Regions from separate parts of the Homo sapiens genome. Here all the other regions are linked to region 2. The links are contacts of gene promoters, found by promoter capture Hi-C in blood cells and fetal thymus (Javierre and others, 2016). All regions are on one chromosome and are shown on one strand. The core of a region is centred on a gene start or on the middle of the fragment in contact, and the rest is flanking DNA. Distances in the headings are between cores, read along the strand shown.

What was found. Contacts are between HindIII fragments. The CHiCAGO score rates a contact against its expected background, and 5 or more counts as called.
Region 1: a fragment that was not itself captured here is called in contact with the fragment with the promoter of RBM19 in region 2 in 1 of 17 cell types (neutrophils); the score reaches 5.0 in neutrophils.
Region 3: a contact is called between a fragment that was not itself captured here and the fragment with the promoter of RBM19 in region 2, in 1 of 17 cell types (activated CD4 T cells). The highest score is 5.2, in activated CD4 T cells.
Region 4: a contact is called between a fragment that was not itself captured here and the fragment with the promoter of RBM19 in region 2, in 1 of 17 cell types (fetal thymus). The highest score is 5.5, in fetal thymus.
Region 5: a contact is called between a fragment that was not itself captured here and the fragment with the promoter of RBM19 in region 2, in 2 of 17 cell types (non-activated CD4 T cells and naive CD4 T cells). The highest score is 8.5, in non-activated CD4 T cells.
Region 6: a fragment that was not itself captured here is called in contact with the fragment with the promoter of RBM19 in region 2 in 3 of 17 cell types (non-activated CD4 T cells, total CD4 T cells and total CD8 T cells); the score reaches 6.4 in non-activated CD4 T cells.
Region 7: a contact is called between the fragment with the promoter of SUDS3 here and the fragment with the promoter of RBM19 in region 2, in 5 of 17 cell types (naive CD8 T cells, total CD4 T cells, naive CD4 T cells and 2 more). The highest score is 11.7, in naive CD8 T cells.

What each region holds. Positions count from the first base shown.
Region 1 is chr12:109,589,048-109,592,974 of GRCh38, reverse strand. MVK (mevalonate kinase) reads right to left here. Exons shown (of 11, transcript NM_000431.4): 8 at 2,114-2,204; 9 at 1,618-1,734. Among named protein-coding and RNA genes, the nearest start is that of MVK, 17 kb to the right of the region's middle. The HindIII fragment of the contact is 8,311 bases long and covers 1-3,927 here.
Region 2 is chr12:113,965,075-113,968,865 of GRCh38, reverse strand. RBM19 (RNA binding motif protein 19) reads left to right here and starts at 2,541. Exons shown (of 24, transcript NM_016196.4): 1 at 2,541-2,674. The coding sequence starts at 2,639. RefSeq lists enhancers at 2,235-2,304, 2,263-3,190, 3,191-3,791. The HindIII fragment of the contact is 5,534 bases long and covers 1,645-3,791 here.
Region 3 is chr12:109,098,103-109,102,175 of GRCh38, reverse strand. It overlaps UNG (uracil DNA glycosylase), which reads right to left. Exons shown (of 7, transcript NM_080911.3): 2 at 3,538-3,744; 3 at 2,892-2,987; 4 at 177-274. Among named protein-coding and RNA genes, the nearest start is that of UNG, 2.5 kb to the right of the region's middle. RefSeq lists a silencer at 4,011-4,073. The HindIII fragment of the contact is 392 bases long and covers 1,291-1,682 here.
Region 4 is chr12:109,467,326-109,471,080 of GRCh38, reverse strand. It overlaps KCTD10 (potassium channel tetramerization domain containing 10), which reads left to right. Exons shown (of 7, transcript NM_031954.5): 2 at 1,353-1,566. Among named protein-coding and RNA genes, the nearest start is that of KCTD10, 8.1 kb to the left of the region's middle. The HindIII fragment of the contact is 1,107 bases long and covers 833-1,939 here.
Region 5 is chr12:118,017,210-118,021,301 of GRCh38, reverse strand. It overlaps RFC5 (replication factor C subunit 5), which reads right to left. Exons shown (of 11, transcript NM_007370.7): 2 at 2,166-2,230; 3 at 1,534-1,670; 4 at 317-396. Among named protein-coding and RNA genes, the nearest start is that of RFC5, 2.6 kb to the right of the region's middle. The HindIII fragment of the contact is 6,314 bases long and covers 1-4,092 here.
Region 6 is chr12:118,047,487-118,051,476 of GRCh38, reverse strand. The region is part of intron 2 of WSB2 (WD repeat and SOCS box containing 2); the gene reads left to right. Among named protein-coding and RNA genes, the nearest start is that of WSB2, 12 kb to the left of the region's middle. The HindIII fragment of the contact is 8,916 bases long and covers 1-3,990 here.
Region 7 is chr12:118,374,607-118,378,732 of GRCh38, reverse strand. SUDS3 (SIN3A corepressor complex component SDS3) reads right to left here and starts at 2,178. Exons shown (of 12, transcript NM_022491.3): 1 at 1,900-2,178. The coding sequence starts at 2,041. It overlaps LOC124903031 (a long non-coding RNA gene), which reads left to right and starts at 2,606. Exons shown (of 2, transcript XR_007063480.1): 1 at 2,606-2,777; 2 at 2,942-3,435. RefSeq lists silencers at 1,782-1,931, 1,962-2,181 and an enhancer at 1,623-2,123. The HindIII fragment of the contact is 4,103 bases long and covers 1-3,018 here.

The DNA of each region.
Region 1 (3,927 bases), core at 412-2,911, 4.4 Mb after region 2:
GTGCTGTTCTGTGGCATTCTCCAGGGACTCGACAGGGTGTATTTTAGGCAGTATTCTATCATTATTGATTTCCTACTCGGGGGGACTGTGTTCCCTCCTTTCTATGTGGAAGGAATTGAGAGCTAGGAAGACAAAGACTGAGGGAATGAGGGCCGAAACACAGGAATTCGATGGAGGCGCTGCCCTGGCACATAGTAGGTGCTCATGACAGATCTGTTGAATAAAGGGACAGACCAGTCCGTCGGCTGGACCCCTGGCTCGGCCACTCACTAGCTGGATAACCTTGGGGGAAGTCTCTCTTCAGGCCTCAGTTTTTACATCTGTAAAATAGGGATAAGACACCTACTTCACAGGGAGGTGGGTGTGAGGATCAAGTGAAAAGAATCATTTGTAAAAGGCTTGCTTTAGTGGCAGCTTCCACTCAGCACAGGGGCTACAGACTCGAATGCCCACGGGGGACCGGGAGACACCAGGCAATGACTACAGAGTGCGGGGCGCGGGGAGGGACTGTGGTGACATGGAGACCGCACGCCCCTCTCCTGTCCCTTCACTGACGGCTGCTGCACAGCCACGGCAGCTAGGGGCCACCCGATCCTCTCATTCTGCAAGGGCAGCCAGATGGCTAACAGCCCATATTCACCAGGCCAGGTGGACTGTGTCCAGGGGGAGCCTGGGCTCTTTGGTTCCCTAAGCTCATAGCACACCAGACATTGTGCTTGCGTGTCACCCATGAGACTCCAAGCATTTTTTGTGTGTGTGTGAGACAAGGTCTCATTCTGTCGCCCAGGCTACAAACTTGACCTCCTGGGCTCAAGTGATCCTCCTGCCTCAGCCTCTCGAGTAGCTGGGACTACCGATATGTACCGTCATGTCTGGCTAACTTTTGTATTTTTTGTAGAGACAGAGTTTCACCACATTGCCCAGCCTGGTCTCGAACTCCTGGACTCAAGCAATCCACCTGCCTTGGCCTCCCAAAGTGCTAATACTACAGGTGAGCCACTGCGCCCGTCTAATCTGAGCATTCTTAAGACACTCTAGCGAGGCCACACGTCCAGCAGAAGTGGAGCTGGGATTCACACACAGGCCTGATCACACCCAAAGTACCAGGTCACAACCTCTACACTAGAATTATGCAAATGGCAGTGGATGGGGTTGCAATGATGAAAAAACAATGTTAGGATCTGTCTGACCCAAAGCAGGCAGTTGACAAGTAGTTGTTGAATGCACCCATGAAGTTAGCAATAGCAGGAGAGTGACCAAGAAGTCACCCCTGCACCGACAGAGCACTCTGCATCAGCCACATCCCCATCTACCTACGTGGGCCAGAGCTCCTTAGAAGTGACCCAAACCTGTTTCCATTGCACTTAGCACGAGCCAGGCCCTGGCCTCCCTTGCACTCTCCCAATTACTCGGAATCACCCAGGAAGAGGCCTGAAAATAAGATACGCTTATATGGCACGCACAGACCTGGGCCCAGCTGAGAGCATAGGCCAGAGGCAGGTCCTGACCTCTATGTGCTAGCTTCCGGGGGATTCTGAGCACAGCCAGATTGCAGAGCCACTGCCTTGGACAGTGGTGTGGACTCAGTAACCCCGGTTCCTGCAGACAGGCTCTTACTTCCAGCACGAGGTACTGCTCCGGGGCTGGGGCTTCCCCCATCTCTCCCAGCACGCGCTCACACTCCAGGGAGATGGCATCTATTGAGGTCAGGAGGGGGGCCACGATCTCTGGGAACTGGAGAAAAAAAGAAGGAACGGCTGGTGAGGCCTGGGGGCAGGCAGATGCAGGACAGCTGCCCCAGCAGTGGGGTGGAGGGAGGAGGTGTTCACACAGCCCGTGCCCATCCTCTGGGGAAACCACCTCTCTTCTGAGCCTGTTTTTTTGCCTTCCCAGCTGCAAAGTCAGTGTGTCTAACGAGCCCGACCACTGTCATTTTCCTGGCCAGGCTACGGGCACGGACGGTACCTTCTTTTCTGCCAAAACCACCTCCCTAAGGGCCCCCACCACCCACCACACCCCCTATAACCCATCAGCCAGAGGGAGACCTCGAAAATCCAGATGTAATTGTGTCCTGGCCTTCCTGAAACCTGCCCAAGAAGGGAACAAGAGTCACCTTGAGCAGCCTGTTTCTGACGCCAGCCACAAGGGCCCTGGTATTGCGAGGGACTTTGGTGTTGGTCAGCAGGATCTGGAGAGCTGGCGACCTGCAGGGTGAAGAGGAGGCAGGTCCACACTGAACTCAAGATGGAGGAGCTGGGACAGGACTGGGAGCAGTCCGGGAAGCCGCCCACCCTGATACGGAGGAAGAAGGGAGGCACAAGAGGTGACACTGGATTGGGGGAGCATGGGGCTTCTGCTGCTGGCCACAGCTGCGCCTCCATCCCAGGCACTGGTTGGGTGGCCATTCTCCCTTGGCTTTTCACTCATTTATTCATTCAACTTCAACTGGGACCTACAACATGCTAGGCACAGCGTGGCCTTGGGGCCGGGGCCAGAGAGGGGATAGGGGAGAAGGGCCGAGAAGGTTTTTCTGGCATGACGTGGACACTGAGAACTGAGGAAGGGTAAGAAGCCACCAAGCAAAGCTAGAAGGGTGAGGATTTCTGGCAGTTGGAGCAGCCTGTGTGAGCCTGGAGGTGGCGGAACCCGGCACAGTCATCCAGTGAGAAATTCAAAGTGGCTATAGCAGAGTACAAGGAGGGGGCGAAGGTTCACTTGTGTGGGTCACCCCCACGAAGCTGGAGTTTTAGAAAGACCAAGCAACAGGCCCTGAAATGGATCACACAGAGGGAAGATGCCCAGGCTAGCTGGTGCGGGCAGTGCCACGCACGGGCTCGTAAATGCAGGGAGGGCAGGGTTGCAGAGGAGGATGGTCCCCAGCACGCTGAGCCCATTCTTGCCCTACCTCAATGGTGCCCGGACGAGCAGCCCTGGTCTAAAACCAGATGTAGAGTCAGTCATCCCCTTGGCTGCCCTCTGGCACATAGACGTGTCCCAGGCAGCCACGTTGAGCTGACTCTCTAGCATGACCCCGTGGTCCTCACCTGCCCCAGAGGAGCTGCATAAATCCCTCCTAAAGCCACAATCCCAACTGTCCTTGTAGTGAGCCGTCTTCGAGGGCTCAAGCTGACATTTCTTGCCATCCAACCTGCCTTTCAGAGGGCTGCAGGCTGGGATGGAAGGTGGGGGATTTGGATGAGCTCTGGCCCGAGACAGCTGGAGACGGGCAGAGCCCTTGATACCTTTATTCGCTGTCTTCACAGTTCAAGATTGTAAAATCCAATAGGGCTGGAAAGGGCTGCCAGAAACCTGCTTTATCTCACTGCCCATAAGCCCATGAAATTAATATCGATTCTCAGCCTTGGAGGCTGGCTTTTTTTTTTTTTTAACTTTACAAAAGATGAACATTCTATTTGGCTTTTCTCTTCCCTTCTAAGACAAGCCATTCCTCAAAAGGGCAGCGTTCTGGGAGGCCGCATCTTGATCCACTTCACAAACAATGCATTTTTTCTTTACAGAGAGGCACCACGCATGGTTGGTGGGGGGAAGCTCCTTAAGCCATCCATGGGATTAACGTGGAGTCTGGCCCCCAGCTTCTCTGTGAAGCCGCCATCTGCTCCCGTGGCACCCCACAGCAGGCAGCAAAGGTTGGTTTGCTCCATGCTCCCATCTAGCCAGGCGGGAGGAGTTTGGGTGTTGCATCTTCATCTTTCTTAGACAAGTCCTCTGCAGACAGGCCTGTCACCAGCCCCACCAGATCCAGGGCTCATACCCATCCAGCGGCCACCACGCAGGGGGTAAGCCTGGTAAGCGCTCCTGTGATCCGGGCTTGGCCACTGCCCCAGCCTCTTCTTCTCTCCTCGCTCCCCAGGCTGCTCACTCCACTCAGCCACTCTGACCTCCCAGCTACTGTGTCACACGGCAGGC
Region 2 (3,791 bases), core at 1,292-3,791:
TGGTGAGGGGACAGGGGATCATTCATCCCACTACACTGCCCACCCTTCTGTAAATAGCTTTTTGTCCAGATTTGCTTTTGTTAAATCCTTTTGAGTATACCTCTGTGTCCTGCTGACTGATGCATTTCCTTCAAAAACATTTATAGCTACATACCTACCGTTTTTTAACAACTGCATAGAATTCTGTTGAATGGACAGACCTTAATTTACAATTAGCATTTAATGAACTCCTATTACCTGTCTCCTCCTGGTGCCCAGTGTGATGCTTTGCAAAGATGGATCTAAGGATGCCCCTATGGCAACATAATGTAGAAAGAACAAGTGGCCTCATCTATAACTCTGAACCTACACTGTGCGCTCCTCACCAGCGAGTTCTGTAGGTTTATGCTGTGGCAGATGCATGAGCTCCCTGCATTTGGGGCTCAGTAGGAAAGAGGCATATTCGAGGATGCCATGTTTGAGCTGGTCTTAGAGAGGGGATGGGAATGGGTTCAGAAAGATATTCCAGTGGCCAAAAGCACATGAAAGATGCTGTTTCATTAGTTATCGGGGAAATGCAAATCAAAACATTGAGTCACCACTGTACACCCACTAGAGTGGCTATGATTATAAAGACCCAATAACAAACACTGGAGGAGATGTGGAGATATTTGAACCTTCATATACCGCTGGTAGGAATATAAAATGGGGAAGCCACTTTGGATAACAGGTTAGCAGGTTCTAAAAAGGTTAAGCATAGAGTTACCATATGATCAGGCAATCCTACTCCTAGGAATATATCCAAGAGAAATAAGAACATATGCCCACACAGGAACTTACAGGTAAATGTTCACGGCAAGATTATTCACAGTAGCCACAAAGCGGAAACAACCCAAATGTCCATCATCAACTGATGAATAAATAAAATGTAATACATCCATATATGTAATACTATTCAGCAAAAAAAGTGTGGTGGCTCACGTCTGTAATCCCAGCACTTTGAAAGTTCAAGGCAGGTGGATTGCTTGAGCCCAGGAGTTCAAGACCAGCCTGGGCAACATGTTGAAACCTCGCCTCTACCAAAAAATTACCAAAAAAAAAAAATTAGCCAGGCATGGTGGCATGTGCCTGTAGTCCCAGCTGCTCAGGAGGCTGAGGTGGGAGGATGGCTTGAGCCTGGGAGGCGGAGGTTGCAGTGAGCTGAGATTGTGCCACTGCACTCCAGTCGGGGTGACAGAGCCCGACCCTGTCTCAAATAAATAAACAGATAAATAAAGTGCTGATTCATGCTGCAACATGGAAGAACTTTGAAAACATTATGCTAAGTGAAAGAAGTCAATTACAAAAGACTACATATTGTATTATTCCATTTACATGAAATGTCCATAACAGACAAATCCATAGAGACGGAAAGTAGATTAGTGGTTATCAGAGGGAAGGGAGAGGGAGGAATTGGAAGGTTATAGCTAAAGGGTGTGGTGTTTCTTTGGGGGTAATGAAAATGTCCTAGCATTGATTGTGGTGATGGCTGCACACCTCTGTAAATATAGTCAGCACCATTGAATTGTGCACTTTAAGTGGGTGAATTGCATGGTTTGTGATAAAGCTGTTAACAATAAGAAGGGGGGACGGAATGTCTTTTAGGTGAAGGAAATTGCAGAAGCTTGGCAGCAACGTCCAGTGCAGCTGAGGCACTGTGGGGAAACAGAAAGGAAATACCGTCATTTAAGAGTGAAAATAGGGGTTTTCATAGGATGTCTCCATCCAAGAGTAGGTACCGAGAATGCTCAGAGAAGCAATAGGAAAATAACATCCCTTTCACGTTCTCACCTCCTTAACCCCTAGCATAATAAAGAATTATTCCCATTTTATAGAAGTAGACACAAAGGCTCAGAGGCCATTTTGGCCAAGATCTCTCAGCTAGAAGATTGGCCAGCTGAGAGTTCCAAACATTAGGAAGGGAGGCAAAATGCTTGTGGGGCTGGGGTTGAAGGCGTAGAGACTCATTGTAGGGCCCTAGGCAGTCCCTAGCTCGAATCTGACTTTCCAATTCATAGTTATAAGACTTTGAGCAAGCTGCTTTACACGCACGATTCCCAGTTTATCTGCCTGCAAAATGAGAGCGTTTATTTCCAACATGTTCATTCCAAGTATTTACACAAAAGGCTCAATACTTGATTTGTGTTGGCTGGCAATCTCTCTAAACTTCACTTTCCCCATTTCTACGAGGAAGGCAAGGGTCCCTAATCTTGCCCCCGTTCTCAGGGGAGTCCTAAGGCTCAATAATAAAAATAAAATAAGAAAAAGGAGAGAACGCGATTGCCCGGTTGGCGCGACCCTTAACACCGAGCTAAACCGGCGCATGTTAGGGACCGGCGCCCCCTGCCGCCTTCTCCGCTGCATTGGCGTCTCACAGAATCCGCCCAAGGCCCTGCGCCTGCGCAAAATGCAAGCGCCCAGGCCCACCCCTTGTGGGGTGTGACCTCCCTGAGTAGTTTTGGATTAGCCACGCCTACTTCCGGACAGGTCAGGCCAAGGTCTCAGCCACGTGACTGTGTTCCGGCTCGGTAAAGATGGCGGCGCCCAGGGCGGTAGCGTGAAACTTGGTGGAAGACGCTGACCAGTCGTGTTGGAATCAAAACAGCGGGGACCCTGCGCCATGTCGCGACTGATCGTGAAGAATCTCCCGAATGGGGTGAGTGCAGAGGCAGGACTTGGGAATCTGAAATGAGACCAGCCGGGAGCTGTGAGGTAGGGAAGAGATGCCTGGAGGTGATCGAAGAATTTTTGCTCTGGGGCAGGACTCCGGGCCAATTCTGAACTCAAAGGGGGCGGGATCCTGGGCTTATCCCCATTTGATCCCGAGGAAAGAGGAATAGTGACTGCTTACGGTTTCACGGCCGGTTGTTTGGTACCTGACTCCTAACACACCTCTTCTCGGGGAGATGACAACTCCCACCTTGTGGCGAATACCCTGCTCCCACAACCTCTTTCATTCGATCACTGTTTTTTAGTTGTTGACCCGGGACATGGTCCGACACTGTATTTATATTCCTCTCCCAGTCTGGAAACTGTTGGGGAAGACATGGGGAATATTAATCTGCGGACCTGCGTTCCAATTCCCACTCCCATCCTTAGGGCAAGTAGGAATACGGAGTGGGTAAAGGGCTTTACAGCATTTATCCAGTAAGTGGGGAGTGGTGACCCAGCCATACTTTTTTGTTTCCCTGGAGCCCAGCGCAGAACCCGACACGTGGTAGGCAAAATAGGTGAATGTACGTAATATTAGATGATTAGATGCGGTGGGCTCGAATGGATCATCCTTTTTTCTCTCTCTCGCTGTTTTTTGTTCTGTTTTGTTTTTTTGTTTTTAAATGGATTACTGCTCCTTCCATCAGGTTAGACAGTGTCTCTTGATGCCTCGCTTTGTGGGATGAGGATTTTTAGCGTAGCTGCACTTCCTTTCCCTCCCAAATTCAGCTTTGTTGTGTTTCAAGTGTAGTTGATTCTCTTATCATTGTTTGTCTTATCTCTTTTTTTTCTCTCTCTTTCATGGCTTTTTTTGGTTTTGTTTTTTGTTTTTTTCTTTTTTTGTTTTTTTTTTTTAAACGGAGTCTGGCTCTGTCTCCCAGGCTGGACTGCGGTGGAGCAATCTCGGCAGTCTCGGCTCACTGCAACTTTTGCCTCCCGGGTTCTAGCGATGCTCCTGCCTCAGCCTCCCAAGTAGCTGGGACTACAGACACGCGCCACCAAGCCCGACTAATTTTTTTATTTTTAGTAGAGACATGGGGTTTCGCCATGTTGGACAAGTT
Region 3 (4,073 bases), core at 237-2,736, 4.9 Mb after region 2:
CCTCTCCTCCTCCACAACAAAGAATGACTCAGCCCCAAATGTCAATGGTGCTGAGGCCGAGAAATCCTCCTCCAAGGCTAGTGAACAGTGCCCCAGATAGTCCCACTTGTAATAAGCTAAGTACACATCTGAAAGGAATCATGTCTGGACTGCAGTCACCTGTAAAGCAACTGTACCTGGGCGGAGGCGGAACAGGCCTTTGAACACTAAAGCAGAGCCCGTGAGCTTGATTAGGTCCATGATATGGATCCTGTCCCAGGATGACAACCTTCACCTGTGAACCACCAGGGGTCAGGAATTAAACAATACTGTAATGTAAGCAGCACAGACCCTGCCTCAAACAAACATAAACAAAACAAATAAAACACTTCTATGGCATAGATTGCTAATAGCAGAGTTGCTGGTCAAAGGCTAAGCGTATTTTAAACTTGTAAAGATATGTACCTAGCTGCTTTTTTAATTTTTTGAGACACGGTTTTGCTGTGTTGCTCAGGCTGATGTGCAGTGGTGCCATCACAGCTCATGGCAGCCTCGCCCTCCTGGGCTCAAGTGGTCCTCCCACCTGAGCCTCCAGAGTAGCTGGGCCCACAGGAGTGCACCACTATGCCCACCTAATTTTTTTTTTACTTTTTGTAGACACACGGCCTCCCTTATGTTGCTGAGGCTGGTCTCAAATTCCTGAGATCAAGGGATCCTCCCTCCTCGGCCTCCCAAAATGCTGGGATTACAGGCATGAGCCACTGTGCCTAGCCCCCAGTTACTTTTCGATGAATTAAAGCAATTTAGGGCCTGGCATGGTGGCTCACGCCTGTAATCCCAGCACTTTGGGAGGCCGAGGTAGGCAGATCACGAGGTCAAGATATCGAAACCATCTGGCCAACATGGTGAAACCCCATCTCTACTAAAAATACAAAAATTAGCTGGGTGTGGTGGCGCACACCTGTAGTCCCAGCTACTCGGGAGGCTGAGGCAGGAGAATCGCTTGAACCCAGGGGGTGGAGGTTGCAGTAAGCCGAGATTGCACCACTGCACTCCATCTCAAAAAAAAAAAAAAAAAAAAAAAAAAAAAGCAATTCAGATTTCCCACCAGCAGCATATGAGGGTGTCTGCTCCCCTATATCCTCTAACAGGTGGAGCCAGAAGAGAATGAGGTCAGATCAAAAGGGCCATGGGAGTAGGTGGCAAGAGACAATGAAATGAAATGAAGTTCCTGTCACGGGAGGTGTTGAAACATAGGCCGCCTCGTCCTTCCCATCCAGGGCCCACCCACCTAGTCTTCATTCTCAAGCTTCTGCCATTGCGTTCTTAGAATCTTCCTCCACAGCTGACATACTCTATCTTTCAGAATCCAGCTCCAGATGTTCCATGACCAGGAGGCTTTTGGGGACCTCTTGTCCCTCCCCTTGGTGTTCACACCATGCCAACATATTCTCTTGTGAAACAACTCTCCCAATGCTGGTCTGTCAAGAAGCCCTGCTGGCCCATCTGATCCTCATAGGTTTGAAACTGGTTTTTGAGCATTCCCTCAAAATATTCCTTTTAATATTCCCTGTTTATACTGATTACTGGTATTCAGAATAGGGCATTCAAACAAGAAGCAAATTAGTATTGATCTTAATAGGATTTAATTTAGCTTCAAAACCAAAGAGCTAGATTCTAAATTCTTACTCTAAAATTAAGCTTACGAGATTTTCTAAGTATTAGGTGTGGCTGCCTTATCAAGATGATTTATTCACCTATTTCACTTCTATGTCATTTCACAGATATTCATTAAATCACAAGATTCTTGCCCCAGTTTACAAAACGGGGGAGGAAAACGGGTAAGAAACCTAAAAGTCCAGTGTCAGCAGGTGCTAAATGCATCGTAGCAGCTCAGAGGAAAACTGGATCACAGAGGTGGCAGGCAACGGACTTCAATTCAAGGAGGTGCCACAGAGGCATCTACTTGATTTTTAAGAGACAGAAGTGGGGAGGGGTTTGCCACACTGTCCAACTCTGGAGTGGGAGAGTGGGAGGTGGAGGTAAGGCTGAGAGGTAGGACGTGGCCCTATTTAAAGAGGGTTGCTCTGCTTTCATAGTTCAACAGTGAGAAGCCACGGTTTTTTTTTTGTTTTGAGACAGGGTCTGGCTCTGTCGCCCACGCTGGAGTGAAGTGGTGTGATCTCAGCTCACTGCAACCTCCGCCTCCTGGGCTCATGCGATTCTCCCACCTCAGCCTCCCAAGTAGCTGGAATTACAGGCGTGCGCCACCATGCCCGGCTAATTTTTGTATTTTAGGAGAGACCAGGTTTCATTGGTCTTGAACTCCTGACCTCAAATGATCCTCCCACTTTGGCCTCCGAAAGTGCTGGGATTACAGGCATGAGCCACCGTGCCCAGCCCCACGAACTTCTGAACACAAGATGGATGAGAGCCGCCAACCAGCAACTGTTATATAAGACAAACTAAAGCAAAGGGATCTGATAACAGAACCACAAAACTGTTCAGGCCAGAAGTCAAGAGCTTGAAAGTGCTAACTATAAGGCAGTGTGGTCAGGTCAAGGTGGGGTTGACTATAACAAGCTGCAAAAGATTTAACTGCTTTGTGTGTCAGTTTGAACTTCACCACCACCATAACATCTGACACCGCGGGAGGTTAGTTTCAGGATTTAAAAAAAATACAAGAAATAAGAGCACAGGATGTACATAGTTTTCCTTTTTGCCACATAAATACCACGTGGTAAACATTAAAAAGAGTAAATACAGGCTGAAATACAGTCAGCCAAACCTCGGGATTTCAGTGTTTTATTTACTACTGAATGATGGACTGTGGCTTAACTCCAGTGTCCCTAATTTAAAAATACTATTTGACTCCTTCTCCCCAATAAAAATTATCAACAAGTTGTACTTACATCTTTTATGTCACACATCTGGGTCCAGGTGAAGACTTGGTGTGGGGGTGGATAAACAGTGTAATGCTTTCTTTCTTCTGCAACAAATCCCATTAGCTGATTTAAAGATAAACTAGACTTAAAATCAGATTCTCATTGGAAACCATAAGAATTCAATAAGAAAGCTTCTAGTGCAAGTTATTTGGAACATCATTAGTTCTTTGTCATGTTATGTCCAAATTCTTTTAAAAAACAACAAACAAAAACAGTGCCTGCCCCCCCACCTAAGTGGTTCAATCAGGTCAATTCCTTGCCTCTTTCTCTGGGCTGGGTCCTGACAGTGCCACTCCTCTCGGCTTTTTAAAGCTCAAGCCAGGTTTCATTCAGGATGGTTGGTGATTTTACTACGCCAGCCTTTCCTGGACAATAGACTATGTGACTTAAATGAATCCATGATATCATCTCGCGGGTCGTTAACAACTTTAACCAATATAAAGCTGCAGAGTGAAACATCATGGCTTTCTTTTACCCCCTTTGTGAGTAAAGGAGGTTGAAGGGGGTACAACCTAAGCCTACGGAAACATGAACTTGGCCGGCTACACTAACAAGACAAAAGGGCCGGCAGCCTCCACATTTACCCTTATGGAAGGTGCATTTCCATATTTACCTTGATAAAATACGGTTTCCCGAACTCCCCGCTGAGGTGCTTCTTCCAGCTCTCTCCAAAGCCCACGGGCACGTTGCGGGCCGCGAGTCTGAGCAGGGCCGCGGCCTTGTTCCTCTGGATCCGGTCCAACTGCTCGGCACTCAGCGGCGAGGAGGGCGGCGTCCCAGGCTCCTCCTGCCCAGCCGGGGCCTTCTTGGCTGGGATGGCCTGCAAGTGGTCCCCGCAGAGGCGGCTCAAGAGCTGCAGCGGCCCCTTCCCAGGCGTCCGCAGCTTCCGGCCCAACCCCCACGGCCCAAGGCAGAAGACGCCCATTTGTGGAACAGGTCCCAGCAAAAGCGGACAGTAAGAGCCCAGGGCTGGGCCCGGTCCGGGAATTGGGAATTAGGTTCTAAACTGGAGCGGGGAGACGGGCTGGGAGGCGCCCTATGGCTTCCCGAGGAGCGTCGCGGTGACTGGGAACCCTGCACAGAGGTGCCCCGCCCCCGCCAGACCCGCCCCACCGCGTCCCCACGTGGTCTTTTCGCGGCAAAAAACCT
Region 4 (3,755 bases), core at 137-2,636, 4.5 Mb after region 2:
AAAAGCACGAGGAGCATACCTGTAGTCAAGCAAAGTTGGGTTTATTTCCTTGTTGCATTGGGGTGGGGAAGAACTGTGGGACATCTCAGAGAAGGGCTGTGGGCTTGTGTTGGGTGATTTGAGAGACAGTTCAGAGAAGTGGGGCTTTGCTCTGTGTTGGATGCTGCTGGGAAGCAGGGCTAATTCTGTGATTGGGTCTCAGTGATTCCTGACTTGAAAGCAGGAAGAATGGAAGGAGGCTAAACCTCTCATTGGTAAAGCAGCAGCTATAACTCCTATTAGCCAGGATAGGGGATCTTTGGTCATTTTTGTATTTTGGATAATGTTTATGTTTTTGTCTGTGTCCGGACATGATGACTGAATGGTCCTGTTTTTGTCTTGTCGCAAGGGCACAGAGTGGCCTTGTCTGAGGGTGATGTGCTGTGAAAAACTGTTGATGTTCAATGGGAATGGTAGGGCCAGCCGTGGGGGCTACCCCAGATTCAGCAAAGATTCTGCCCACCCTTGCACATCTCCACCTCTACAGTTTTACCTGTTCATTTCAGACATGTTTGCTCTGAGTACACATGTGCCGGATACCAATCTCACTTTCCAGGCCTGCGTAAATCAGCCACTGTATCCATTTCTTTGAGATGTACAGAGAGTCAGCCATGCTATCAGGGAGATGGTAGTGGGATCTTGCTCTTTTGGGCAGCACTAGTCTAGGAGGTCTAATTTTGCAATAACTTGGTTCCAAAAGTTTCCATGTCTGTTGTTTAGTCCTCAGAAACACCTTCTCCCTACAGGAAGTGATAGGAGTGCCAGCTGGAATCCCATTCAACTTCATAAAGCTTATTTCATCTGTGATGCAGCTGAAAAATGACACTTAGCTAGCTATTGAGTGGTACATGGCAATAAGGAAATGTAAAGAGACCTGGGCAGTGCTTTAGGCTGTTTTAGGGTGCAGCCAGGGTGTTCATGTATACAGGTGCTAGGCAGAAAGGAAGTGCTTATAACACAAGAGTTAGGGGCACCCTTGTGCCTGCAGGGTCGACAGGCAGGGTCAGTGTATGAGGCTTTTTGGGTGGGTTTTGGGACAAACTAGGGGATGCATGGCCCTCTCTAGGGGTCATCCAATACCCCAGCTCTGACCAGTTGTTCCCCTGCTAGCCCAGTTGGCCTCTGATTTTAGGAGAAGCCAGAAGTCCAGATTTTTCTGTGAGCTCTCCTTAGTTGTCCACATTGGAAGCAAACTTTTAAATGCTGTGTATGCGTGGCCCAAGCAAAACACATCTGGAGGCCAGATTGAATCCACAGGCTGAAAGCAGTCAACCAGGCCTGATGTCATGACCCTGTATCCTCTCCACTGGCAGGAAGAGATGTCAGGAGAAAGTGTGGTGAGCTCAGCGGTGCCAGCGGCTGCTACCCGCACCACTTCCTTCAAGGGCACGAGCCCCAGCTCCAAATACGTGAAGCTGAATGTGGGTGGAGCCCTCTACTATACCACCATGCAGACGCTGACCAAGCAGGACACCATGCTGAAGGCCATGTTCAGCGGGCGCATGGAAGTGCTCACCGACAGTGAAGGTAAGCTCACCCACCATGTGCCTGCCTCTGGCCATGCGTTATGTGGTCAAGGAGGGCTTCCCTGAAGAAGTGACATTTAAGTCGAGACCTGAAGATGTGTAGGAGGCAGCTTGTTGGGGACTCCCACCATCTTGACTTGGTCGTTGATTTGCTATGTTACTTTGAGAAAGTCACTTCCTCACCCAGGGCTTAGCTTGCTTATCTCTGCCATGCTTCTGTGACTTCAGAGTGAAACTCAAGCCTGGGGGAGAGAGAGGTATCTTCCCTGGACCCTTGTCCTCCCAAGATGGGGTCTTGACAAAGACTTGCCAACCTGGGTTTCAGTCTCAGCTCCCCATTAGTATCTGGTGATCCTAACCAAGTGGCCGAAGCTTTTGGTCTCATTTTCTTCCTCTGGTGAAATGGGCATGACAATACCCTCCCCCGTGGGGCCATCGGCACATAGTCAGTATTCAGTGCATGTGTGTATATGTGTGTGTGTAGATAGATAGATAGATATACACACACACACACACGTTTTTCTTTTTCTTGTGGAAAGTCATGTTATTAAAAGGCAAAGAATCGGCTGGGCACAGTGGCTCATGCATGTAATCCCAGCACTTTGGGAAGCTGAGGCGGGCGGATCACGAGGTCAGGAGATCGAGACCATCCTGGCTAACAAGGTGAAACCCCATCTCTACTAAAAATACAAAAAATTAGCCGGGCGTGGTGGTGGGTGCCTGTAGTCCCAGCTACTCGGGAGGCTGAGGCAGGAGAATGACGTGAACTCGGGAGGCGGAGCTTGCAGTGAGCTGAGATCGCGCCACTGCACTCCAGCCTGGGCGACAGAGCGAGACTCCGTCTCAAAAAAAAAAAAAAAAAGGCAAAGAATTGTTGAGAGGGGCATTGTCATAACTACTTCCTACTCACCTGGAATGATCAAAGAGCCCCTGACAACAGGGCTCCATCCTTACCTGGCTGGGTTTGCGTGCAGGTCACATGAGGTTTAAAAATAGTACCATCCTTCATTCCTTGGCCTGAGATTGCTTAAGACCAGGCCAGGGCACAGCCTGGCTTGACCTTGACCCCGCCTTCCTGTTTCTGAGACTGGTCTTCTGTGCTGCTGCCCTACCTTTCCAGGGACATTGACTTGGGAGGGTGGGTGAGTTTTCACATAAGCGGGTGGGATTGGGGGACCTAAGCCTGGTGTCCCACAGTTAATTCTCTGATCCTAAGAGGGCTGAGGCTTGGGCTACCCACTGGTGAGGACATTCCTCTCTGTGTCCTGGGGAAGGCCAGGGTGTGGGGCTGGAGGTTCTGCTTCCTGTGAACTCCGGTTTCTGTTCAGGCAGCAGCGAACTGAGGTTGGAGCCCCAAAGCTGCCATCTCACACTTAGCTTTTTATGAGTGGGAGGATCCTCTTTGCTGTGCCACACCCCACATGGCCCGAGAGTATCTGTGGAAATCAAGACAATAGCACCCCCGCTGCTGGAGGAAGCAGGCATTATCTGAGAACCAGGATTGTTGTGGTTTTTCTCATACCCTACCCACTCTCTGGAGGGGCTCAGGAAAGGCTGCTGAGTTGCCTCGAAAGCTGAGGCTCTTCTCCTCGAAAGGCCTCGCCTTGGTGGCCTGATGCCATATCAAAAAAGAAACGGACTCCTCTGTCCCCCTGTCCCCGACTGGACAGAGCATACGAGTGGTACTGGCAGGACTGCTCACCTTCTAAATCCCTGCTATGAGATGTTTTTCTCCTGGTGCTGCCTGGAAAACACAGGTTCTCGGGGGACACAGTGTCATTTTGACACTGCAAACTGTGACTTGTTTCATGTCACCGGAGCTCAGCCCCTGCTTCATATCATTATGAAAAGCTAATGGTATGGCATTTTATGGGGCATTCTTTTCTCTTTTTTTGAGACAGGGTCTTTCTCTGTCACCCAGGCTGAAGTGCACTAGGGCCATCATAGCTCACGGCAGCCTCCATCTCCTGGGTTCAAGCAATCCTCCCGCCTCAGCCTTCTGTGTAGCTGGGAATACAGGCATGCACCACCAAACACAGCTAATTTTTAGAATTTTTTTCTGGAGATGGGGCCTCACTATGTTGCCCAGGCTGGCCTCGAACTCCTGGGCTCAAGCCATCCTCTCACCTCAGCCTCCCAAAATGCTGGGATTACAGGCGTGAGCCACCACGCACAGCCGATGGGTATTGT
Region 5 (4,092 bases), core at 450-2,949, 4.1 Mb before region 2:
AGGTGGAGGTTGCAGTGAGCCGAGATCATGCTACTGCACTCCAGCCTGTACGATACAGGGCGACCCTGTCTCCAAAAAAAAAAGAAAAAAAAAACAAACTTGCTAATACAAGCGTAGATAACATTTTATTTTAACAGTTGCATTATAACGCTTCTTACTACCATCCCTCTCGTTTATCTCTTTTCCATGGTTGCTTTGGACAAAGTCACTTTTTTTTTCAACCCATATAAACTGGCTAAGGAGAGGATTAAAAAATTAACCCATATCATCTTACTAATCAAAATCAAGGGAGCGAAATTACACAAATAATTCTTACTTAAATATTGTCCTTGTGCTAGCAAAGCTCAGGATCGGTCCTCGAATGATGTCTATTCCTCGGTCATCTGAAGCATTCAGCTAAATGTGGAAGACAGAAGACAAAACAAAAACCATGTTGCTGTGCTATCTGTGAGTTCTTGGTGTTAGTGTATTTCCTCATCAGTCCAGCTCAGCAGGCTAGCTCTCTATGTCTAATGATGGCTAAGAGATCATCATAAAATAAAAAATCAGTTTTACACAAAATTCACTAAATTAATAAAGATGGCTATATTACCCCCACCCTTTGAGGACAATGACTGACATAAATTGGAGAAATAATTAATTGGTATGGTTACACTGAACAGCACCTCTGGTATGAGCAGAATGATACAAATTTCAGCTACCACAATCCTAAGTTACCAAGTTCTTAATAAACTGAAATAAGGACATTAGTAGCAGCAAAGTTCTGAGACCTGCGTCTAAAAAGTAAGTTAAACTTTTCTTGCAATAGACAATACTCAGATTTTTGAATCTAAGTATATTAGTCAAGGTCCCAGCAATATACAGATGGCATACTCAAATGCAGCAATTTGAAGAGAATTAAACAAGATCTTTTTAAAGGTGTGATATAGGAAAACCATGGGGCTATGCAATACCTGTCACCCTTGAGCCTGAAGGGCTTAGTGAAGGGAGTGGCTGTAGGCACCTGGAGAGGGCTGCAGGAAAGGTACCACCTGTGAGATGTACCCTACAGGTGGGCCATGCTGCCAGCCTGTGTCAGCCCCCAGGGAAGGCCCAGGCATCACTCACTTCCTTCCCCCACCCCTGCCAAGGCCCCTATTGGCCAAACCCAACCAGGAGCCAGAGGGTAAGTGAGCTTATAGTCAGTAGGGCTCAGCCTTCCAGGCAGGAATATGGTGGAGAAACGTGGAGAATTGATCTAGAGGGGCCATGGCAGACAGGCAGCAACCAAGTCACCATAAAGTAAGGTTTGGGGAGAAGTTGGCAAGAGCAAAGAAAAAGGTGCCAAACCCTACAACTGCCCTCTAGCTGACCAACGCTAATCCAGACCAAAATGACCATTATAGGAAAAAGGGAATTAAAATATTCAAATTTACTTCTTTCCTAACTGTCCGTGGGGCAACTTACTTTTAAAGTAAAATAAAACCAGCAGAACTGAAATTAAGAGACTGGAGTCTCTTAAGTTATTTGTAGAGTAAGAACAATCTTATTTACCTCCAAGACCATGGAGCCAAATTCTTTGTCTTTATATAGCTGTTTCGCACAGGCTAGGATGGTAGATGTCTTGCCTGTCCCTGGGGGACCGTAGAGAAGCAAGTGTGGCAGTCGGTCTTCATTGATAAACTTCTGAACTGAGGATCAGGAAGGAAGAAGGGCACCATCAGTCTTTGGGAGCTGCCTCATTCACCCTGGGCTCCTGAGTTGGGCTGAAAGCTCTTCAACCCAATTCAATGTCCAAATCAGAGGCAGATACAACTTGATGTAGGGGCCTCATATCTACTTTCGTGGAACAACTGGAATTCACTCAATAGCGCAGCCAGTCAACAAGTATTTATTGAGTGCCTACTGTGTTACAGGCACCTTTCTGGGTGCTGGCAACATCTGTGAACTTAAATGATTCTCCGTAATGCTATTTTTACTCCACTGTGTTGCAATTTTATGCTCATGTTTGTGACTTACCCACTGGACTGTAGCAACCTGAAGAAAATGAATGAATGATCTTAAAGCCACATTCTACAAAGCGCAATCAGATTCTTTGAAGTTATTACTTAGGAGAGACAACATCACCAAGCAATTTATACAAGTCGCTCAAGCAGGACAAGAGCAACTGACACATGAATACTTACTGGTACTCAGAATGTCCTGATGAGAAATGAGATCATTCAGGGTCTGTGGCCGGTATTTTTCAACCCTGAAATACAATTTAGTATGTATTATGACATATATAAATGCAAGAATATTTTATGTGCAAAAGAATCCTTGCAGGTCAGGCACAGTGGCTCATGCCTGTAATCCCAGCACTTTGGGAGGCCAAGGTGGGTGGATCATTTGGGGTCAGGAGTTCAAGACCAACCAGCCCGGCCAACATGGCAAAACCCTGTCTCTATGGGTACCTCCTAGGGTCTTTGTAAGGATAGAACAACTAACAGGGTGTCTGCTAACCCGATAATATGCCATTCAATAAAAAATACCAAAAAATACAAAAATTAGCTGGGCATGGTGGCATACCCCTGTAGCCCCAGCTACCCCGAAGGCTGGGGTGGGAGAATTGCTGGAACCCGGGAGGCGGAGGTTGCAGTGAACCGAGATTGCACCACTGCACTCCAGCACTCCAGCCTGGGCGACAGAGTGAGACCTTGTCTTAAAAAAAAAAACAGAATCCTTTCATATCCTAATTTAAAAAGGAAGAATAAGAAAGCACTTTAAGTTTGAACAGACCAGTGGTTCCCAACCACAGGTGATTTTGTCTTCCTAGGAACATCTAGTGATATCTAGAAACATACTTAGTTGTCACAGGTGGGCAGAGGGTCCTATGGCACTCAGTGTGTAGTCTCCAGGAATGCTGTTAAACATGCTACAGTGCACAGGACAGCTCCCCTAAACCCACCCAGAGTATCTGGCCCAAAATGTCAATAGTGCTGAGGTTGAAAACTCTGTTCTAACTTCATCTTTCCAGCTGTTTGCCTATAATCTCAACCTGATGGGCACCTACTATTGCAAAGTGCATTTGAAACTGAACTCCTACCCAAATAGACTTCAACAGAAGAATGGATAGGTAAAATCTCTTCTGTCCATACAATGGAATATGATTCAGCCATAACAAGAAATTAACTACTGATACAAGCAGCAACATGCATGAACCTTGAAAACATGATCCTGAGTGAAAGAAACCAGACACAAAAGGCCACATAGTGTAGGATTCCACTTACATGAAATGTCCAGAATAGGCAAATCCATAGATAGAAAGCAGATTAGTGGTTGCCAGGGGCTAGAGGAAGGGGAGAATGGGGAGTAACTGTCAATGGGTAAAGGATTTCCATTTGGGGTGATGAAATTTTGGAACTAGATAGCGGGAAGACTCCACAACAGTACACTGCATTCTGAATGTACTTAATGCCACTGAATTGTACATTTTAAAATGGTTACAGGATGGGCTTGGTAGCTCGCCTCTAAAAGTCCCAGTTCTTCGGAGGCTGAGGCAGGAGAATGGCTTGAACCCCAATGTTTGAGGTTACACTGAGCTGTGATCACACCACTGCGCTCCAGCATGGGCGACAGAGCGAGACCCTGTCTCTAAAAAAAAAAAATACGTAAATACATAAAATAGTTACAACTGTCAATCTTCTGGGTTTTTTTTAACCACAATAAAGACAAATTGAACTAGTTACTAGACAATGACAACTTGCAGCTTTTCGAAGCCAAGCCAAATTGCTTCAAAGTCTTGGAAGCATTGCGAGAACATAGCTGTTTAAGTAGGATGGTTAAGAGTACAAGATCTGAATTCAGACTTCCTAGATTCACCTCCAAGCCAATTTTCTCCCTTGGACCATAGGGAAGTCATTACATCTTTCTAAAATGCAGTTTCCTCCTGTGTAAAATTTGAAGCGGTGCCTACCTCCTACGGTCTTTGTAAGGATCGAACATCTAACAGGGCGTCTGCTAATCTAATAATATGCCATTCAATAAAAGTTGACCAGGGAGCGTTATTACTAGTTTAAAATGTGACCAATAGTCGCATCGCAGGTTTTGAAGAGTGGGAAGAGGGCATTTTGG
Region 6 (3,990 bases), core at 991-3,490, 4.1 Mb before region 2:
AGTTCATCCGTATTCTAGCATATACTAGTATTTCATTTCCTTTTATTGCATCATATGGAGATGCCAAATTTTGTTCGTACATTTATCAGTTGATGGACATTGGGTTGTTTTCATGTTTTGGTTATTACAAATAGTGCTGCTATGAACATTTATAGAAAACCTGTGTTTTCTATGTTTAACTATTTGAGGAGGTGTCAGACTGTTTTCCAGAGTGGCTGCACCATTTTACTTTCCCACCAGCAGTGGATTCAGGTTCCAGATTCTCTACATCCAGCCGTTGTTATTGTCTGTCTTTTTTTATTATCCTAGCAGGCAGCCATCCTAGTGGTATGAAGTGGCATTTCATAGTGGTTTCGATTTGCATTTCCTTGATGGCTATGGATGTCAAGCGTCTTTTCTTTCTTTCTTTTTTTTTTTCTTTTTTTGAGACAGAGTCTCACTCTGTTGTTCAGGCTGGAGTACAGTGGCATGATCTCAGCTTATTGCAACCTCCACCTCCTGGGTTCAAGCAATTCTCCTGCCTCAGCCTCCCAAGTAGCTGGGACTACAGGCACATACCACCACGCCTAGATAATTTTTGTATTTTTAGTAGAGACGAGATTTCACTATGTTGGCCAGGCTGGTCTCAAACTCCTGACCTCAGGTGATCCACCTGCCTTGGCCTCCCAAAGTGTTGGGATTACAGGTGTGAGCCACCACACCTGGCCGAGCATCTTTTCAGGTGCTTACTGGTCCTTTGTATACGTTCTTTGGATAAATGTCTACTCAGAGCCTTTGCTCGTTTTTGTCTTTTTATTATCAACCAAGTTTATTTTATTCATTTATTTTTTTTGAGAGAGAGAGAGGGTCTTGCTCTGTTGTCCAGGCTTGAGTGCAGTAGCTCAGTCACGGCTCACTGCAGCCTCAACCTGCTGGTCTCAAGCTATCCTCCTGCCCTAGCCTCCCAAGTACCTGATACTACAGGCGCGCCACCATGCCCAGCCAACTTTTAAATTTTTTGTAGAGACAGGGTCTTGCCTAGGCTGGTCTTGAACTCCTGGCCTCAAGAAATCCTCCCGCCTCAGCCTCCCAAGTAGCTGGGATTACAGGTGTGAGCCATGGCGCTTGGCCAAGTTTAGTTTCTAATACCAGTTTTTCTTTCTTTGGGATGGACAAGCCCCAGTGTCAGAATGCCGTGAGCTCCCATTCAGATGGCCCAGCATCTGTATGTTTTCATTTGTCCCAGGGCAACTCTATGTCTGTATTTATTCATTCAGCCAGCCTTGGTTGCGTAGTTTCTTTTTTTTTCTTTTGAGATGGAGTCTCGCTCTGTCGCCCGGGCTGGAGTGCGATGGTGCGATCTCGGCTCACTGCAACCTCCACTTCCCTCCTGCCTCAGCCTCCTGAGTAGCTGGGATTACAGGCATGCGCCACCACCCCTAGCTAATTTTTTTGTATTTTTAGTAGAGATGGGGTTTTACTATGTTGGCCAGCCTTGGTTACATAGTTTCTTTGCGTAACACTGAGTTAGGGACTGAGAGTCGTTAGATAAATCAGACATGGCCCTTGCCCTTGAGGCTTTCATTTATTTTTCTTTAAGCATTTTTTATAAATAACATTAGATTTAAGGTTTTTATAAGTTGGATATGAAACTTGCCTTGATAAGAGGGAATGTTGACAGGAGTTTGTTGAGATGGGTACTCTGCATGCTGCTAGAGTTGAGGGGGATAAATTTGTGCAGTTTTTGGAAGGAAGCCTGGCAAAATGCATCAAGGACCTGAAAAATGTTCTTCTGGGCTGGGCGCGGTACCTGATGCCTGTAATCCCAGCACTTTGGGAGGCCGAGGCAGGCAGATCACTTGAGGTCAGGAGTTTGAGACTAGTCTGGCCAACATGGTGAAACCCTGTCTCTATTAAAAATACAAAAAGTTAGCCAGGTGTGGTGGTGTGCACCTGTAATCCCAGCTACTCAGGAGGCTGAGGTAGGAGAATCGCGTGAACCTGGGAGGCGGAGGTTGCAGTGAGCTGAGATCGCGCCACTGCACTCCAGCCTGGGTAACAGAGCGAGATTCCATCTCAAAAAAAAAAAAATCTCAGAAATGGTGTCATCTATTTATATACACTGATCTTCATCATGAAATTAGTTGCATGTTAAGAAAATTGGAAACAGTTTGAAATCCAGGGATGAGAGGATGGTTACGAAAATTTTACCATTTCCATATGATATTTTTGCAGCCATCAAATTTTGTTATGTGTTTTTAATCAGAGTTTTCAGTTTCTTCTGTGGTCAGTTTAATGATAATGCCAAGGTCATACATTGTTTACTAATTCCCTACCTGAAATACAAGGGATGCACCTTCATTTCTAGACTTGACATGTAAGTAAATTTACTATATGAATTATAAATTCTATAGTCTGCTCTTTTTAAAAAGCACAACATGGAAGATCTGTCAGTTTCCTGAAAATCACTCTTGTTTTCAAATTTGTATAGATAAATATGTCTTTTTTCTGTCACATGACCTAGAGCTGCTCCCGGGTAGAAGGAAGGGCCTGGGCTTGCATCTCCCTAAGGGCACTGTGGGTGGCTCAGGGTCTAGTGTGGAGCATGTGTCGGTTGGGGAAAGCTCCTTTACTTTAATTACTGGTATCAGTAAATGAAAACAATAACAATTTTTTTTTCTGAATCCTATTTCTGAACAAACCATAAATTTAAATCCTATTTCTGAACAAAACATAAATTTGTATAGATGAATATATCTTTTCACTATTAGCTAAGGAAAATGAAAAAAGGTATTTGAGTATTAACCATTTTTTTTCATATTTATTATTTAACATAATGAGCAAAGTGTTATTGTTTCATATGTTAAGTGAGAAGTTACTGGTTTTGGAGAAAAATCACATTTTTTTTTTTTTTTGAGAGAGTCTTGCTCTGTCATCCAGGCCAGAGTGTAGTGGCGCATCTCGGCTCACTTTAACCTCTGCCTCCTGGATTCAAGTGGTCCTCCTGCTTCAGCCTCCTAACTGGGATTACAGGCGTGTGCCACCACACTCAGCTAATTTTTTTGTATTTTTAGAAGAGACAAGTTTTCACCATGTTGCCCAGGCCAGTCTTTGACTCCTGGCCTCAAGGGATCTACCTGCCTTGGCCTCCCAAAGTGCTGGGATTACAGGCGTGAGCCATTGCACCTGGCAAAATCACATATTTTGAAGAACAGTATTCTGAGGAAATGTTTGCAGTATGAGGCTTATTGAAAAAAAACAGGCTATATGGCCGGGTGCGGTGGCTCACGCCTGTAATCCCAGCACATTGGGAGGCAGAAGTGGGAGGATCACTTGAGGCTAGGAGTTCTAGATCAGCATGGGCAACGTAACAAGACTTGGTTTCTACAAAAAAGTTTTAAAAATTAGCCTGGCGTGGTGGCAGGTGCATGTGGTCCTAGCTACTCAGGAGGCTGAGATGGGAGGATCACCTGCACCCAGGAATTAGAGGCTGCAGTGAGCTCTGATCATACCAGGCCACTCCAGCCTGGGCAACAGTAAGACACTGTCTCTTAAAAAAACAAAAAAAAGCAGTTTGTAAAACCATGTATGCAGTATGATATCAGATTTGTTTTTAAAAGACATTTGTGTATATACACAAAAATTTATAGTGAGACGTTTAGAATGGTGGTGTTAGGATTATAGGTAATTTTTACTTTGTCTCATTTTCACATTTCTCCCATGTTTCGCTACTATTTTTATTTATTATTTTTATAATTTAAAATAATCGGGCTTTTTGGGGGGCAGAGAAAAGGTCTTGCTCTGTCACCCAGGCTGGAGTACAGTGGCATGATCATAGCTCACTGCAGCCTTGAACTCCTTGTCTCAAGTGATCCTCCCACCTCAGCTTCCTAAAGGCGTAGCCGCCACACCCTGCCAACAATAGCTATTTTAAAAGTATTTTAAAAGAGAGAATTTGGGGCATTTATATTCTAGTTAGGGTAGTTATACATTTTTTAAAAATCATGTAGT
Region 7 (4,126 bases), core at 929-3,428, 4.4 Mb before region 2:
TTGCACTCCACCCTGGGCAACAAGAGTGAAACTCCATCTCAAAAAAAAATAAAATAAACAAAACAACAAATAAAACCACAAAAATTAGCCAGGCATGGTGGCAGGTGCCAGTAATCCCAACTACTCCGGAGACTGAGGCAGGAGAACTGCTTGAACCCAGGAGATGGAAGTTGCAGTGAGCTGAGATCGTGACACTGCACACCAGCCTGGGTGAGTGAGTGAGACCCCATCTTAAAAAAAAAAAAAAAAAGATTACTTACAATATCCAATAAAATGTAAATACTATGTAAGTAGTTGTTACGCTACACTGTTTAGGAATAACAAAAAAAAAGTCTGCACATGTTCAGTACAGATCCAATTTTTTTCCTGAATATTTTTGAGCTGCGCTTGGTTGAATTCACAGATGCAGAACCCACAGATACGCAGAGCCAACTGTATACAATAAAAAAGGGGAATCTGACACAAATAAATATTTTCCAAGTTACAACTAAAGGGAACAAGGAGGAGGCCAGATGATCAAACGAAAACTGTTTCAGAACATCTTAAACATTGTTCTTAGAACAAGCTAATGGCTGGGGTGTGTACAAAATTTTAATAGCCCCTATACTGGAAGGAAAAAAAAACTCAATTTTGGCTCCACAGCGCCCCCTCGTGGGTATGAGATGAAGTGCAAGTGCTTCACATTCAAAATCTCTGGTTAAGCCGTGTCTTCTGATGGAATTAAATCGAATGCAGTCCCTCAACTTTGTATGTCATGCATATGCAGCTGTCTTTTGTAAGGCTGTTGCAGATCCAATTCCCCACAAACCCTTCTCCCCTCCTTCAGTCAAGAGGCCTTCCCTGAGTTCCTGTCATGGTCAGCCACATTACTTGGCACTCGGGAAACTCAGATGAATAAAACGTAGGCCCCATTCCAAACAGCTGGTCTAGCTTTTGCTCCACGGCCCGATTTTGTCCCAGAATATTCCGCTCATATATCGGTCTCTCTTTGTTTCCTATTTCTCCTCCCTTGATCTCTCACATTTCATCACCTTCCTCCTCCTCCATCCCTCCAAAATAGCGTTCCTCACACTTGCCAAATTATAAAGCCCAGTTTGAAAAGCAAGGCTCTGAGACTCTGTGATGACAGTGCAAAGAGCGTGGGACTGAAAACACAACACCTGGGGACCATTAAGCAAATCTCTCCCTCTCTTACCTGTTTCCGGGAGGGGGGCGGGTGGGGAGAACATTTACGGAGTATTTACAGTACCAGGCCAAGTACTTTATGCGCATGTCATTTAATCCCTATACCGACCCTAGGAAGTGCCTTCTAGGGCAGGTGTGGGAATTAAACAGCTCCATTACAGTTGGGTAAATCGAGGCTGGAAAACTTAAGTTTACAAAGCTGAGTTAAGTGACAAAGCCAAATTTAAACCTGTATCTGGCTGGTTCTAGGTCCCTTTCCTTTAACCAACCTGAGTTCTCAATAGTGTACTACCTAAAGTATAGATGACTTATGCATTTCGGGGGTGGGGAGGGGCAACTTTGGACTCTGATGCTCTCACACACAAAAAAGGGGCGAACTACACTCGATGTATTCAGTAAATGAGTTTCTAATTCCTACTAGTGAGTGAGGTTCAATCAGAAACGGCTGGGAGGGAGGACGGGGTCTTAAAGGGACCCCCAGCGTGACAACATCTAAGTCCCCTCTCCCCATCACGGTCGAGTGTAACGCACCCAGGGCTTCCCCGCTACTCCAGCACGGATGGGGGTAACTTCCCCGAGCCCCGCAACTCCCGGCGGCCCCTCCACGCAGCCCCAGGCCCCGGAGGCCGCCCCGCCCCTCTCCCGAACAGCCCCACCCCCTCCCCCAGCGGTCCCACCTCCGCTCCGGGCGGCCGGGCGAGCGGCAGGACTCACCTTCGTCCGACTCGCGGCCCCGACAGCTGCGCTCGTCGTCCTCGGCGCTCTCCAGCTCTTCATCCTCCTCGGGGTAGTACTCGGGGGCCGGCGGCGCTCCAGCCTGGGCCGGGGCCGGGGCCAGCAGCCCCGCGGCACTCATGTCGCCTCTGACCGCAGCTGAGCGTGGCCCACGGACACCGCGGCCACCCGCGCTCGGTACTCGCCGTCTGCCTAGCAGTGTCCGCGGCAGCCCCCAACTCGAGGACCGGCAGCCACGGCGACCCCTTCCCCGTCTCCGCCGAGCTCCGCCCCCCGCGCCCGCGCTCGGCAACGGGGGCCTCGCGCCGCGAGCGACTTCCGGGTCGAGAGCTGCCCGACAACGGCCTGATTCCGCCATCCTTGGGGGAGTGGAGATGCCGCTGGACGCCCCCGTCGCCACAACCTCAGCCCTTTCATCGCCGTCTTAAAATCCTCAACGTATAGTGGGGGAGGGGCGGAGCCAGGTTCGCTAGAGTCAGGCAAATCTACGGGCAGGCCCAGCAGCGGTCAGGACCCCGAGGCTCGCAGGCGACTTCCGGAGACAGCCGCCAGGCGGCGCCTGGAGCTAGAACTAAAGCGGTGATCGTTAGCGACCTAGGGGCGGAGGGTTTGAAGGGCCCTTGGCAGGTGGAGGTGGTCTCTAATTTAAGCAGGGAACGACGCGACCTGCCCCCTTATTAGGTCGGAAAACCTAGACGTCCAGAGTGTGCGTGATCATGCAGCCTGGCTCCTCCTGTGACTAGTTAGAGCTTTATTAAGAGCTAAAAGACAAGGATGCTGATATTCCATCCTGGGGACAGCAAAATAGTATTTTCCCAGCCCTTAGGAATCCTTTCTGTTTGTGTAAGGTTTATTCGGTAAGATGTTCCCCCGGTTTTACAAATGAGAAACGAGCTGTCGTTTGCCTAAAAAAAAATAGTAACGTCCAGTCTGATTTTTTAGACTCCGAGACCCAGGCCCTCCGCGGTACAGCTGCCTTGAATATTAATTTTTTAAAAGGTGCTTTTGCTTAATCCAACAGCTTGCTCTGAGCTCTCAACTGAAGAAGGGGAGAATTTGCCTACCAGAAGTTATTTGGCTAAGGCCCACGTGGAAGCTTAAAAAACAGGAGAGCTGAGTATCTGCAAGAATTAATTTGTGCGATTCCCTCTGAGTAGAAAAGGAACACGGTGTTATAAGTTTTGCTGAACGAATAGATTTAAGGTGTCCCTTTAGCTAAGAGCAATGTGGTCTAGTTGTGTGTAGCGAGAAAAAAGGGTAAGGTTTTTAATGGTTTGTCCAAAGTAGCCCCACTTTTATGTTCCACCCGAGTCTCCGTAGGAAACGCAACCAGTAGTGAAAATGAACAGATGTGAAAACCAGGGTGGAACCGAATATTCCCATTCTCAGACCTTTTGTGATTAAATTTATCTCTGAATTGTTCCCTATGGACTCTTCTGAAAATGAAACGTTATTCTCATCCCACTTATTTTGACATTTATTTACTACCTTGTTTTAATTAAAATCTTGGCTCTATTTGTAAGTGATTTTTTCTCCCAACAAAACTAAAGAATTTCCAGAATGGAATGCTAAGATGTCTTTCCAGGAGTTCTGAGATCTTCTGAAGCCCCTTCTAAATAAGAATCATTCTCAGATCGCACCGTAGGTCTGCCATCTATATTTAAACTAGGATTCCAGAACTGTCTCTTGTCCAAAAGATGAAGTCATTTTCTTTCTTTGTGCTGTTGGAGAACATCTAAATTACTTGCAATCAACTATATTGAGTAACTTGCGTTCCTGTCAGTAGCAGTAATCATAGTGCAGAAAAAGCAAAGATTTTAGAAATCAAGAGTTCATTGATACAATTAATTTTTAAGTTTATTTCGTTGCTAAATGGTTTCCTTTCAAGACGCTGAGATTTTTATCCTGCTTATGTTTTACTGCTGTCTTCTTGACTGCAAACAGCATCTGTTAATGGTCATGCATTTCTTTTTTATATGTAATGAATAGACACAACTGAGCACTTGGGTTATGAAAACTTACCCCATTTTTTTCTGTCCAGATTGCCAGCTGCAGAACTAAAAAATGCTCTTTAGTGAAGGTGGACCTACTCAAAAAAATTCTCTTATGGCTTTAGTCTTACCTAACCTTTAGATTTATTTAATATGATTTTGGACAGTCGCTATACTCCTGTAAAAATCAAGTTCCCTCAAAACCAAGTTTTACC